Regions from separate parts of the Homo sapiens genome. Here all the other regions are linked to region 3. The links are contacts of gene promoters, found by promoter capture Hi-C in blood cells and fetal thymus (Javierre and others, 2016). All regions are on one chromosome and are shown on one strand. Each heading gives the region's core, a stretch centred on a gene start or on the middle of the fragment in contact. The rest is flanking DNA. Distances are from core to core; before and after follow the strand shown. Region 1 holds the start of ZFX-AS1 (ZFX antisense RNA 1). Region 2 overlaps KLHL15 (kelch like family member 15). Region 3 holds the start of POLA1 (DNA polymerase alpha 1, catalytic subunit).

Region 1 (4,290 bases), core at 144-2,643, 540 kb before region 3:
GCATGCTCAGAGATTTCTTCTTACTCTACTTTTGTTTTTCCTTTTTGAAAGCATTTGTGATTGAGAGATGTCTGAGGGAAGGGACAAATTGCATTCTGGGAGTTTTAAAGAGTTATGTCAGGCAACTAAAATACGTGGCCTCTGTATTTAAAGAGATTTCACACCAGTATACTATTTGCTTTATAATTTTTGTGTTTCTTATTGTTTAAAAATGCCTTTAACATTTAGTGCTGTGTTAAAGGATAGCATGCCAGATTCCAGATTAATGTAAAGACTCCACTATTTAACTTTTCCCTAGTAACTTTAAAACAGAGTTTGGGTTCCAAGTTCAGCATGGAAAGATAGCATAAACATTTAAACTAAGTAAAGTGCGAAATACACATTTTTGAAGTTGGTAAGTGCTGTTTAATCATTTTCCCCTTCTCTCCCAAGTCTTTTGAAACTTCAAAAGGCTTGTTTAAGCAGTGTGTTTAAAAAAAAAAAAATCCATACCCAATTGGGCTCCTCTCTATTAAGGAATGTGGAAAATTCATGATTTATGAAACGATGACACCAGTCTTACATTTCACAGGCTCCCAAGCTCTGAAACACGGGTACATAGGAAAATACACAGAAAATTCCTGTTCTTTGCAACGTGCGAAACGTTTCAAAATGCAACTTTGCTCATCTCCCTCCCCCGTACAAACTAATAAAATCAGTTTGGCTCTGACTGCTTATTTTTAAAAAGTAGACGGCCTGGTAGGTGCTCTAGGGATAACCCTTCTCCCCCCACTCCACCCCCCTTCCCGCACACCCATTTAGACTGGCAAGCCCGTTTTCATTTTATTTCAAAGATTTTTTTTTTTTAAGCGAAGGCAGGGGACGGCGGGGGTTGCTAAATTTATCTTCCTCCCCAGCCACGGGGATGAAGAAAACACATTTACTGCGGGCGGGGGTCTGAGGGCCTGCAAACAACTCGAGCTGGAGCCTCGGCCAGGACCGGCGCGAGAGGCGGTAGGTCTCCAGGGAGGCCCCCGGGGGGCGGCCGCGGCCCACGGGACATGGTGGGGGGCGGCCGGGCCGCCTGCCTCTCCGCGGGGTCGGCCGACCGCGGCCCCGCGCGGGCTTTACGGCCGAGGCGGCGGCGGCAGCGGCGCGTGTGTGGCGGCGGCGGGCGGGAGCGCGGAGGAGGTGGAAAGAAGGGGGGCGCTGTCACGGAGACTCCGGCCGCCGGAGACCCCGCCGCAGCGAGGCCACTGGGCTCCCCGGTCGCGGGGCGGGAGCGGCGCCGACACGGGGTGCCAGGAGGACCCACCGGGCGGAGGAGGGGGCCTGTCTACCCTTCCGCATTTTCCTGGGTCTCTCTCCCGGGCGGTGACGTGACGTGCTGACGGCGGGCCCGTGCCGGGGAGCTGGGCCGCTTTTTGTCAGCTCCGAGCTCGGCCCCTCCTCCCTCCCTCCGCCCGCCCCACCAGCCGGAGCCCGGCCCAGTGCTCCAGAGAAAGGCCGGCCTGCAGCACCCGCCACCGTCGCCGGCCGCCCGCACGTCCGTCCGGTGAGTCCCGGGTGCCGCCGCGGCCGCGGGGCCTAGTGCGCGCACAGCGGCCTGGTCTCGGCCTGGTCGGCGGCCCGCAAGGCGCCCTCCCGCGCTAGGCCGGGCGGCGTGGCGCGCGGCGCCGAGCAGGCCCCGAGGAGGCCGCAGTTAGGCCCGGGGAGGAGCCCGGCTGCCCCGAGCGGCGGCGGAGGCGCGCTCCGTAAGCGGGCGGGGGTTGGGGGAGGGTCGCCCGGTTGTGCCGGAGGCGGTCGAGGGGCCCCGGGTCGGCTCCGCGGCCGACCTGGGGCACCGCGCCGGGGTGAGGCCTGGCGAGGAGGCGAAGGCTGCAGGCGTGAGGTGAAGGCCGCAGGCCGGCCGGGCCGATTTTCGCTATGTAAATATCGGTGAGGGGGGGGGAGGGACGGGGGACAAGATGGCGGCGGCTCGGCGCCTGCTGCAGGGGACGATAGAGGGGGTTGCCGGGAGGGGGAGCCGCCATCTTGGAGGCGGTGTCTGGAGAGAAAATTCCGCTACAGCCCGTGAGGGGGGGTGGGAGAGCGGGCGGCGGCGGCAGCGGCGCCGGTGACGGGCCCCGGAGGCCCGGCGCGGCGGCGTGTGCGCGCGGAGGGGCGTGCTCGCTCCCCGTGGCGGCCATTGCCCTTGCCGCCATGATGAGCGCTCGGGCTCCAGGCGCTCGGCGGCAGCGCCACCTTCCTGCCTTGCCTCCCGCAGCCCCGTGACTGGCTGCAGTTTCCGCTGCGTTTCAGCTGAGCTGCCGCAGGCGGCCACCGCCGCCGCCCGGACGCCGGGACCGTTTCACCCTCAGCGCCCCTGGCCCTGCGCCTTCCCCCGCGCCTGTAGCCACCCGAGGGCAGTCGGGGCAGGTGGCATTCCGGACACCTGGGCTTACCAGGGCATACGGGACCCCAGGAAATGTTATTTTTGCTTAAGTCAAATCATATGTGGCTGCTAAGGTGCTTTCGATGCAGTTGTTTTTCCAACAATCTTTGCCGCCCCGAGTATCTGAATAAAGGAAGAAAAATAAAGATTGATGGGAAAGTTTTTGCCATTCTTTTGTCCTATAGGGAAAAAAATTGCACAACACGAGAGCGGAGGAATAAAATTTTGAATCATTCGTACTCATTTATGTGGAAACAACTTTCTTGAAAAACGATTTAAGTAGTGATCTGTTGGTGGTATTTTTTTAAATCGAGGAATAAGGGCAGACTTTTTTATTTTCTTATTGGAGGACAACTTAGTGTGGTGCATATTTATTGTGCATTTGCCTGTCATGGTATTTCGATTTTTCATTTGTGAAGTTTTAAGGCGGAGTTTCATCCCCTAACGTACTTTTTTGATTGCACACTGTGCAACTTTCTTGATAAACTCGGAGCCTACTGTTAGCGATGCACCGTGCTAGATGCTAAGAAACATTAAAAAGGTTCTTGTAATGCAGACGGTGGCTGCAAGAAGTCTCATGTTTAGAGGTAGGTGGGGCAAGGTGAAATGCAGTAAAGTGAGAGGTACAACTAATTACTGGGATTTCCGAGGGAAGCAAGGTTGCCATTGGAGGATCAGGGAGGGACGGGTTCCTGAAGTATTAATAGGTGGCATTTTGAGAAGGTTACCGAGGGATGGGTAGGACTTTGTTAGGTAGAGGTGGAGGTGGAGAAAGGACGTTTCAAGGGTGAAGCTTCTTCAGTAAACAGTAAGTATTTACAGTTTGGCAAAAGTGGATGGTATAGGTAGGGGAGTGGTGGGAATTCAGGCTAGAAAAGTTAGATTGCAGAAGGGCTTGCTTGCCAGGTGGAGGGGCTTATACTCAATGGGGTAGGCAGCGGGGGTGCCCTCAACTAGAAGAGTGATGGCACACCTGAGCTGCACCTTGTTATTTACTTATTTTTTATTTTGAGACAGGTTCTTGCTATATTGCCCCAGGCTGGTCTCGAACTCCTGGGCTCAAGCCGTTCTCCCGCCTCCCACTGCCCGCCTGTCACTGCCGTCTGTTCCCTGAGCTGTGCTTTACGGTACTTAGTAGTTCCATTGGACTAGGAAAAGTTTCAAAGTTGAAAAATAATGAGAGTAGTAAGTTGATCAGTGTTTTCATTATCAGAACGATTACAAGAATGTTCAGAAGTTAAGCAAATTTTGCTACTTTTGGAACGATGCGTCTCTATTAAGACAGCTGCTCCTTTTTTCTATCCTGATTTCTCATCCGAAATAATCTTTTGCTCAGAGTTGTCAGAATTTCTATGGTACACAAATAGGGAGGGGTTTCTAACATTTCATTTACCATGGTTGAAAAGTACAGGACTAGTGCTGTGGGTTATTTGACGAAAATGAGAAATGAGTATTCCCGTGGTAATTTTTTTTTTTTTTTGAGACTGAATCTCACTCTGTCGCCCAGGCTGGAGTGCAGTGGTGTGATCTTGGCTCATTGCAACCTCTGCCTCCCGGGTTCAAGTAATTCTCCTGCCTCAGCCTCCCGAGTAGCTGGGACTACAGGACCCTGCCACCATGCCTGGTTAATTTTTGTATTTTTAGTAGAGACAGGGTTTCATGTTGGCCAGGCTGGTCTCGAACTCCTGACCTCAAGTGATCTGCCTGCCTTGACCTCCCAAAGTGCTGGGATTACAGGCATGAACCACCGTGCCCTGCCTGTTTCCTAGAATTTTATGATGGAAACCTTTAGGTGGCATAGATACCCATTTTCAGTTTTTCCATTTTTCTAGACTGTAACAGGTCGTGAGCAGCGGTGCTCCATGAAAGGGCTGGAG
Region 2 (4,846 bases), core at 2,294-4,793, 670 kb before region 3:
GCCATTCTGATGTGAAGGCAAAATTATAGGCAATTAAAAGACATTTCAAAATTAACCTCTATGTTTGTGCCATAAGCAATAATTTATTGCTTTCACATTCCTTCCACAGCTGCTTGAAAATTCATACAAAAGCTTAAGGTATTCAATGCAAAAGCTAGATTCTCAGAGGTTGATATAATATACTTACCCTCAATGAAAAATTTAAATGATTTCATACTATCTTCATCCCCAAACTGTTCTCCTACCAAAATTGATGCCTATGCAGAAAATGCCACAGTTGCATATCGAAAAGAGAATGCAAAGGCTTACTACGGATAAAAACAGAATTAATTTCTGAGTCATAACATTTCTCACTTCTGTAACCCATAAAGTAAAAAAATGTAAATTTGACAATCTCAAAGCAGCCAACTTCTCAACATACCAATATAAAAGAAAAGACAAATTTAAAGACAGACTTTTAAGCTCTATTAGCGGTCACTTTACTCTCAATACACTACTCAAATTGAAAACTCACTTTAATATGGGAGGAGACGTTGTGTAAGTTAACTTTAATTTGTTTAATACTGGAAATTCTTTCTTGTCATCAAAATATTTTTATAACTCAGGACCAAATTGCAAATGACCATTTAACTAAGCTATTAGGAGGGCCCTGGGTCCTCCAGCCTCCAGACTGGCACCAAATTACTTCACTTTTCAGGTATGTTTAGCATTTCGTCATCCTATAATACAAGAAGCCTTATAAGAAAAAAAAAACCCTGCTTGAATGCTATTTTTCATCAGAAGACTTTAATTTAATGCTTCTCTGCTTATTCCACACTATGACTAGAAGTAGTCCAAGAGTGATGTCATGGAAAACAGCTTCCCTAGCCTTTAGAGATTGGATCCAGTGAGAATTCTAGGAAAAGCCTCTATTGGGGAATAAAACCCCAAATCTTCTAAGTTCTATTCTAACATGAAATCACAAATACTGTAATGTTAGCCTTTCAGTTCCTCATAAGAATTATACAACCAAACTAAATATTTTGGAAAGTCTTGCTGTTATGATACAGATTTCCTGCAAATCATTAGTCTATAATATATATCATTAACTAAATTCAAAGATCTTATCAGAGACAAAGGGTATTTTTTTCTATCCATTCTTACATGTTTCAGTGATTGAGCCTGATGAGCTTTAAGGGTCTTACGTTAAAAACAGAAAACCTGACAACATATTTTGTCTTTCCTAATTTCTTACTTGCAAAGTTAAAATTTCAAATTCTGAAAAGGTCTTCCACTTTTGGACCAGCAGCAATACAACATATACCCTTGGCAGAGATGAACTATGAGAGCCTTTCCAATGATTCTTAAAATGGCAATAATAATAATCTTATATTACTATCTCCCTTGGTGCCGCTGTTCCTTGAAAACCAGCTACACTCCCAACTTAAGGCCTCTCTACACCCTGTTCCCTCTGCCTGGATCACACTATCCCCAGATATATATGGTTCCCTTAGGGTCTTTGGTGTCATTTCAGTGAGGCCTTCCTCAAACACCCTCTTTTAAAGTTGCAAAACCCCATCTGCCCCATCAACCTGACAATCCCCATGCCCCTCCACTTTATTATTCTCTGCAGTATATTAAATGGCAATACAGGCTATCCATTTTACTTAGTTTCCTTTCTGCTTCAATTTGTCGGTTTTGCTTCACTGACTGTTGCATCTCCAGCACCTAAAACAGTGCTTGGCACATAATAAGTGCTTAATAAATATTTGTTGGAAAGACAGATAAATTTAATTCTCGCAACCTTCCATGTTTTGTATCCATCCCCGACTTAAAGATGAGAACATCAAAGCTCACAGAGGTTAAGTAACTTGCCCAAGGCTATAATTATTAGTAAGTTGTGAAGTTGGGGTCTGCCTGACTTCATAGCCTCCCCTATTAAACACTGTTCTACAATGCCTCACCCATGGCTCCATCTTTCATTTCTCTTCAATAAAAAAAAAAAAGCACCACATGAGCTATAGCACTCCAATTCAGAGAAAATAGATGCTAATAAAGTAATCCACCTCCTCTAAGCTAAAGATTCATTCTCCTCACAGTTAACATTATTCACTCTCAAAACATTTGCACTGGGAAAGGCCAGGCTTGACAACAGGCCACCTACATCATTTGCGGGGACTCTTGTTCAAAATCAGGGAAAAATGTTGTTAAAAGGCTGGGCGATGGCCGGGCGCGGTGGCTCATGTCTGTAATCCCAGCACTTTGGGAGACCGAGGCGGGCGGATCACTTGAAGTCAGTCGAGACCAGCCTGGCTAACATGGTGAAACCCCGTGTCTACTAAAAATACAAAAATTAGTCAAGCATGCTGACGCGCATCTGTAATCCCAGTTACTCGGGAGGCTGAGGCAGGAGAATCACTTGAACCCGGGAGGCGGAGGTTGCAGTGAGCCGAGATCGCGCCACTGCACTCCGGCCTGGGAGACAGAGCAAGACTGTGTCTCAAAAGATAAAAAAAAAAAAAAAAAAAGGCTGGGCACGGTGGCTCCCGCCTGCGCTTTGGGAAGCCAAGGCGGGTAGATCACTTGAGTCCAGGAGTTCGAGACCAGCCTGGCCAACATGGTGAAACCCCGTCTCTACTAAAAATACAAAAATTAGCCGGGCGTGGTGGCGAGCGCCTATAATCCCAGCTACTTAGTAGGCTGAGGCCCAAGAATCGCTTGAGGCCGGGAGGTGGAGGTTCCAATGAGCGGGGATCGGATCGCACCACTCCACTCCAGCCTGGGCGACAGAACAAGACTCTTGTCTTAAAAAAAAAAAAAAAGTCGTTAAAGGTAATAAAATGTAAAGCTCTTTCAAAACTTTCTTCTGTATCTCTCAACTGTTTCGCGGTTTTTTTTTTTTTTGAGACGGAGTTTTGCTCTCGTCGCCCAGGCTGGAGTGCAGTGCCGCCATCTTGGATTACCGCAACTTCTGCCTACCGGGTTCAAGCGATTCTCCCGCCTCAGCCTCCCGAGTAGCTGGGAATAGAGTAGCTGGGATTACAGGCGCCCGCCACCACGCCAGGCTAACTTTGTGTTTTTAGTAGAGACGGGGTTTCTCCACGTTGGTTAGGCTGGTCTCAAACTCCCGACCCTCAGGTGATCCGCCCGCCTCGGCCTCCCAAAGTGCTGGGATTACAGGCCTGAGCCACCGCTCCCGGCTCTCAGTGTTTTTTAAATTTGATGTTTAATGTCGTTCTGAGTAAAGGAAAATTAAAAATTTAAATTAGCATGAATTTTACCATTCACCCTTATACTGTACAATCCCAGTTTTACATGCAGATTATTAAACCAAGTGTGGGGCCCTTCTGAACATCCATGAAGCCAAGCCTGCCCTGATCAAGGTTAGGTTTCTGAGATAACCCGACTCGAGGTAGAGAGAAGGTCAAACCTTGAAATCCCCAATAAAGCAATGATTTGTCAAAATTTTATCAAGATTAGTGATAAATCCAATCTATAAAACCAGCCACTTTGAAGTAGGCTCTTCCTTTTACTATGTAAATCCTGCCCAACTTCTATTATTTTGCCTTTTTACAAAACACAAAAGCATACTCTGAAAGACAACTGGTATTGGACTAGAGGATTATAAATTTAATAAAACATCTAACTACTCAAAACCATTTGTTAGCTAAAAATAACAATATACCCAAAAATGCTTCTCTTTTCACTTTTTGTGGACCATTTAAGCCAAACCATACTATATTTTTGATATGCCAAGTAAAAATGATCAATACTAATCTGTTACACATATAAATCCTGGCAAAATAAATTCAATTTTCAAACCACAAATATTTACTATCCTATTCTTTCCCCAAATTAATCAGCAATGAAGAGTGCAAGTTAACATCCTCTACCACTGATAAACTGTGACTCTAAGCACCTACTACGTGTTGTGATTAAAAATGAGAATAAAATTATATAATTACATTAAGTGCTAAAAAGTTGAAATGTTCTATACATTTCTAGATCTATTAAGGATTACTGAAACATGAATGCATTGATAAGCTCTTCAAAACCAATTTTCAAATTAGTAGAAGTATTCAAGCATCCTGCTCCCTAGATATGAAAAACAGGCATTAAAATTAGGGCATATATGTCTGCAAAGCATTTTCTAAATTACCACTTAATCAGATTAACAAAGGCAAACAAATTCGGAAAACAGAAAAGACTAACAAATGTAAGGTGTTAAATATTTGGAGTAAGAAAAGGGGCCTAAAGCGGCCTAGAACGATGAAAAGCAAAGCCCCTACGGTAACGTTACATTTGAATTAAAGAATACCGTTATTTAAATAAGCAGTTAGCACTTCGTAGGAGGAAGGCCAAGCAACGTGACTATTACAGATCTATGGATTCACAGCACTGCTTTACTATTATTCCGTACTTATTTGCTTATATTTATAATATAGAAATAAAGAGGCAGCAACAGTTAGCCACTACATTAACCACTCTACCAAAGGTTACTTAAAAAACGGCCTTGCATTCTTACAACACTCTACAGTTAAGGATTATTTTCACATATATGACCTCATATAGTCCTCTCAACCCTGCGATGTTGGTAGTACCGACTATATTTCATAGATAAGAAACCAAGGCTCGGTACGCGATTTTTTCTCAGAGTCACCCAAGTCGAACCCAGACCTTCCGATTCCTAGTTTTATGCCTCGCATTTTGCATAGTTCTATTTCAGGCATAAATTGAATTGTTAAAGGGAAGGAACGGGTTAGGCAAAAAATAATCATGGTACCTGCAGCTGTGTGCTGCAAAAAATGGCTGAATTATGCTTCTTCCTTTTTCTTTCTCGCTCTCTCTGGAAAAAAAAATTACATTT
Region 3 (4,746 bases), core at 2,246-4,745:
ATTCTAAAACAACCCTGGCTCCCTCCTTCATTCCCATCTAATCTACCCCAATCCTTTTTATTAATATTATTACTTAATTAATTGTTTATGTGAATGAGTTCTTTAGTGGTGATTTCTGAGATTTTGTTGCACCTATCACCTGAGCAGTGTACACTGTACCCAATGTGTAGTCTTTTATCCCTCACCTCCTTCTCACCTTTCCCAGAGTCCCCATTGTATCATTCTTATGATACAATGAGTCCATTGTATCATTCGTATGCCTTCGGATACTTGTAGCTTAGTTCCCACTTACGAGTAACACACAATGTTTGGCTTTCCATTCCTGAGTTACTTCACTTAGAATAATGGTCTCCAATTCCATCCAGGTTGCTGCGAATGTCTTTATTTCATTCCTTTTTACTGCTGAGTAGTATTCCATGGTGTGTGTGTGTGTGTGTGTGTGTGTGTGTGTGTGTGTGAGATATATACACACACACATATGTATATATACACATATCTCACTTTTTTTAACCTACTTGTTGATTAATGGGCATTTGGGCTGGTTCCATATATTTGCAATTATAAATTGTGCTGCTGTAAACATGCGCGTGCAAGTATCTATCATGTATAATGACTTCTTTTCCTCTGGGTAGATACCCAGGAGTGGGATTGCTGGATCAAATGGTAGATCTACAAAAGTAAGATATTTTAGCTGCAATCAGATATGACTACTTTCCACTTGGTGGTTTGCTGGTAAACCTTAAAAAAATAAAAAGCTCTGATTTGTACCACTTGCCAATTTCCAGGGTGTAAATATTCCCACCATGACTGATTTCAAGCTACCAACAGTTTAACATGGAGATTACAAAATACTGGAATATTTAACAATCAGCTCTTGAGAACCTCCAACTGTCCCTCTGATACACTTCGCTTCTTGCATAGTAGCAGTGAAATAGGCATAGGCATTTTGGGATTCCACTATGGGGAAATGGAGTTGATATTGCATTTAGTTTGGGCTTATTTCTTCTATTTATGTGGGTCGAAGGCACTTAACCCACATATATACTTAAGCCATATATACTTAAGTTATTGATAGACTTTTTTTTTTTTTTGAGACAGAGTCTCACTCTGTCACCCAGGCTGGAGTGCACTGGCACAATCTCGGCTCACTGCAACCTCTGCCTCCCGGGTTCAAGCTATTCTTCTGCCTCAGCCTCCCAAGTAGCTGGGACTACAGGCGCCTGTCACCACACCCGGCTAATTTTTGTATTTTTGGTAGAGATGGGGTTTCATCATATTGGTCAGGTTGGTCTTGAACTCCTGACCTCATGATCTGTCAGCTTCGGCCTGCCAAAGTGCTGGGATTACTGGCGTGAGCCACAGCGCCGGGCTGTTATTCATAGACTTCTTGGTGTAGGAATAGCTTCCAGGAATATTTCTACCCCAGTGTGATGACTTACCAGGAGTTTTGAACTGAAAGTGTAGGGCCAGAAGACATATCATGGTATGAAAGTGTCTGGCCTGGCATGGTGGCTCACACCTGTAATCCCAGCACTTTGGGAGGCTGAGATGAGTGGATCACCTGAGGTCAGGAGTTCAAGACCAGCCTGGACAACATGGTGAAACCCCATCTCTACTAAAAATACAAAAATTAGCCAGGTGTGGTGGCGGGCGCCTGTAATCCCAGCTACTCGGGAGGCTGAGGCAGTAGAGTCGCTTGAACCTGGGAGGTGGAGGTTGCAGTGAGCCGAGATGGTGCCACTGCATTCCAGCCTGGATGACAGAGCGAGACTCCATCTCAAAAAGAGAAAGTGTCCTACAGGTCTTTTCCCACAAAGTATGTGGGTCATTGTCTCAGTCTGTTCAGGCTGCTATAACAAAATACCACAAACTGGGTGGCTAATAAACAACAGGAATTTATTTTTCACAGTGCTGTAGGCTGGGAATTCCAAGATCAAGGTGCCGGCAGATTCAGTGTTTGGGGTAGGCCCACTTTTTGGTCCATAGATGGTGCCTTATTGCTCTGTTCTCACATGGAAGAAGGGGCAAGGCAGCTCTCTGGAGCCTCTTTTCCGAGGGCACTAATCCTATTCATGAGGGAGGGTTCCTGCTGATGACCTAATCACCTCCCAGAGGCCCTACCTCCTAACACCACCACACTGGTGATTAGGTTTCAACGCATACATTTTATGTGGAGAGAAACATTCAGACCACAGCAGTAGTGAAAGAGAAAAGAGGTTTGAAATGCCTAGAGTTATACCCGGGCATGTGGGAAGTAATCAGCTGTGAAATTGTTAAGGTAAGGATTTGGTTCTTATTAATGACTAGCCAACATGGTTCTCTCCTGGTTGGAAAAAGCTTGATAATAAAACTATAAAACTTCCATCAGTTTTTAAAAGGGAAGTGTAGGAATAAATCTGTCGTAGTACTTTAAATAGGAAGTTATGTCTAAGTGTAAATTACTACATGTTATGTATCACAACATATGGATCACATAACATGATATTAAATGATTATGAAGCTGAAAGACATTTTCTAAACAATCAGAAATTAAGAAACAAGTATTGATCAACCATGCTAGAAGACAGATTGAATTATCTTTATATCCTCTTTGGAGAAAATATTACAAAATTGTTGTCACATGAAGAAGGGATCAATAAGCATGTGGGCAATAATGTAGGAAAAAATACAAATGTGTGGCAGGCATTATTTAATAAAAATGTTATACCTTTTTGGAAAGAGATAACATGAGATGTACACATTACAGCCATTGTATCATACACAAAAATTGAATACCCTTTTTGTTTTTCATAACATTGAAATTTTGGAGTTCACGTCAGGTGTTTTGTAGATTGTCCTACATTTTGAATACATCTGATTGTTTCTTCATGGTTAGATTCAGGTTAGACATTTTTTGCAAGAAGACCATATAGGCGAAGTTTTTCCTTTTTCATACGCATTACATCAGGAGGCATATGAGATCAGATGGCCATTTATTGGTAATGCTACTTCTGGTTATTTGGTTAAGACGGAGCATATATCTTTAAGTTGTTAATCACACAGCCACTGTATCCAGACTGCTGAGAAGCAAACTATCAGGCAAAATTCAGGGCGCGCAGCAGGAGGCAGTCGCTTTCCCGGCTCTGGGGAAAACGATCCAACCACGCCCACTCTCCTGCCCGCCCGCGCCTCCTTTCCGGGAAAATGGGCTCTGAGAACCAGAGCGCCCTTTCTCCCACGCGCCCAAATCTTTTCCCATCAGCATGCGTGCGCTTGCGCAGTCTCCAGGCGGCTCCTTTCCAGCGCCCGACCGCTTCTTTCTCCTGCTCTCCTCCGGCTTCCCCTCAGCTCTAGCTTTTCCCTAAGGGGTCATCACAGGGCGCCAAACGCGCGTCCGCGGGAAGGCCGGGGGCGGAGCGCGGCGCGGCGCGGCACGTCAGTGGCCTTCCGGCCGGAAGTCCGCAGCCTCCCGAGCCGCTGATTGGCTTTCAGGCTGGCGCCTGTCTCGGCCCCCGCGCCAGTTTTGGGCTGGTTGGCGCGGAATCGGGAGATTCGGGACCATGGCACCTGTGCACGGCGACGACTGTGAGATAGGGGCGAGTGGTGAGGGACAATTCCGCGCGCGGGGCTCCGGGTTGGGACAGTGGCATGATTGCCGGTGGTGGGGGTTCTGAGGGAGGCGCACACCCGGGTTTGTTTGGGCGCAGACCTTGGTCGTCCCCGGCGGGGGCCCTTCTGGCGTCGGACCGGGCTTCCTTTAGGCGCGGTTTGCTCTTGGAGGACCAGAGCCTGGAGGGATTTTTGTTTGGGAGGCTGTCTCACCTCTGCCACTGAGAGTCTCCACAGTCGATTGCGTTTCTATTTCTTTTGGTGAGTTGCACCCACGTGCTGGGTATAACTTTATTGAGACTGGCCCCGTGGGGCCGAAAGTATTTCACTGCGATCTCCCTAAGTATCCACTTGAAGGCTTGAACAGAACAGATCTGTGTCCCTTTTTGTAGGAACTTCCAGGAAAATTTTATACATTGTAACTAAGCAGGAAAGAAAGCTCTAAGTGCTGTCATCGGGGAATAACGCGTTTTGTATTTTTAGGTAATGGGTTTCTACTTTATGCATTAACAATTTTTCTTTCAGATTCTTTGGAAAGTTCTTCAAGTGCTGCGTAGAAATCCTGTTCACAATCTAGTCATTCCTGGTGAAGTTTCAAAAAAATGGCATCAATTTAGGGCATTTCGGATCCCCTGTATATCACTCCGTTTGTCAGGGGTGTCTTTTATTTCCAAAAATAGAATACAAAAATGCAAATAGATTTGTCTGATTTTTTAAGTGTTCAACTAAAGCGTGACTTCAGTTAACTTCTAACTTAAAATCAGATGCTTCACTTTGTTAGCTCAAGCGTCACCTCTCCTGTCATTCAGATACATCACCATTAATGAGAACTCGCTTCCTAATCAGCTTCCTTTGCATTCACCTAGTTGTGAGTCACAGATTTCAATTTGTTCTAGCCGTTCGTTTTTTAAGACTATTTTGGAGAGTCGACCTGCCTGGATTACAGATAGGATGTTGGGTGTAAGTATGTGAACGAACAGTCTTTGCAGGCCTCTATCAGTGATTTGCCACTAAGCCCTTTCTTCATCCTAAAAACTACGTCATCTATGAACATCAGGAAATCACTTTGGAGGATACTGTGCAATCTTGAGACTCCTCTTAGGTCATGGTGTTCATTAAGTAGTTGCTGGGGACTTGTGACTGGAATTTTTCCTTTAG

The links. The method cuts DNA at HindIII sites, captures the fragments that hold promoters and counts their contacts. A CHiCAGO score of 5 or more calls a contact.
Region 1: the fragment with the promoter of ZFX-AS1 here is called in contact with the fragment with the promoter of POLA1 in region 3 in 4 of 17 cell types (fetal thymus, monocytes, non-activated CD4 T cells and 1 more); the score reaches 12.3 in fetal thymus.
Region 2: a fragment that was not itself captured here is called in contact with the fragment with the promoter of POLA1 in region 3 in 1 of 17 cell types (fetal thymus); the score reaches 5.1 in fetal thymus.

Annotation. Positions count from the first base shown.
Region 1 is chrX:24,148,261-24,152,550 of GRCh38, forward strand. It overlaps ZFX-AS1 (ZFX antisense RNA 1), which reads right to left and starts at 1,394. Exons shown (of 3, transcript NR_046657.1): 1 at 1,295-1,394; 2 at 493-582. It overlaps ZFX (zinc finger protein X-linked), which reads left to right and starts at 1,469. Exons shown (of 10, transcript NM_003410.4): 1 at 1,469-1,534; 2 at 3,431-3,540. RefSeq lists enhancers at 806-905, 1,112-1,925 and silencers at 1,016-1,375, 1,436-1,845, 1,866-1,915, 1,966-2,475. The HindIII fragment of the contact is 5,789 bases long and covers 1-3,204 here.
Region 2 is chrX:24,019,854-24,024,699 of GRCh38, forward strand. The region is part of intron 2 of KLHL15 (kelch like family member 15); the gene reads right to left. Among named protein-coding and RNA genes, the nearest start is that of KLHL15, 4.9 kb to the right of the region's middle. The HindIII fragment of the contact is 6,826 bases long and covers 131-4,846 here.
Region 3 is chrX:24,690,423-24,695,168 of GRCh38, forward strand. It overlaps POLA1 (DNA polymerase alpha 1, catalytic subunit), which reads left to right and starts at 3,496. Exons shown (of 37, transcript NM_001330360.2): 1 at 3,496-3,582. The coding sequence starts at 3,540. RefSeq lists enhancers at 1,465-1,965, 3,668-3,757 and a silencer at 3,318-3,477. The HindIII fragment of the contact is 2,747 bases long and covers 2,336-4,746 here.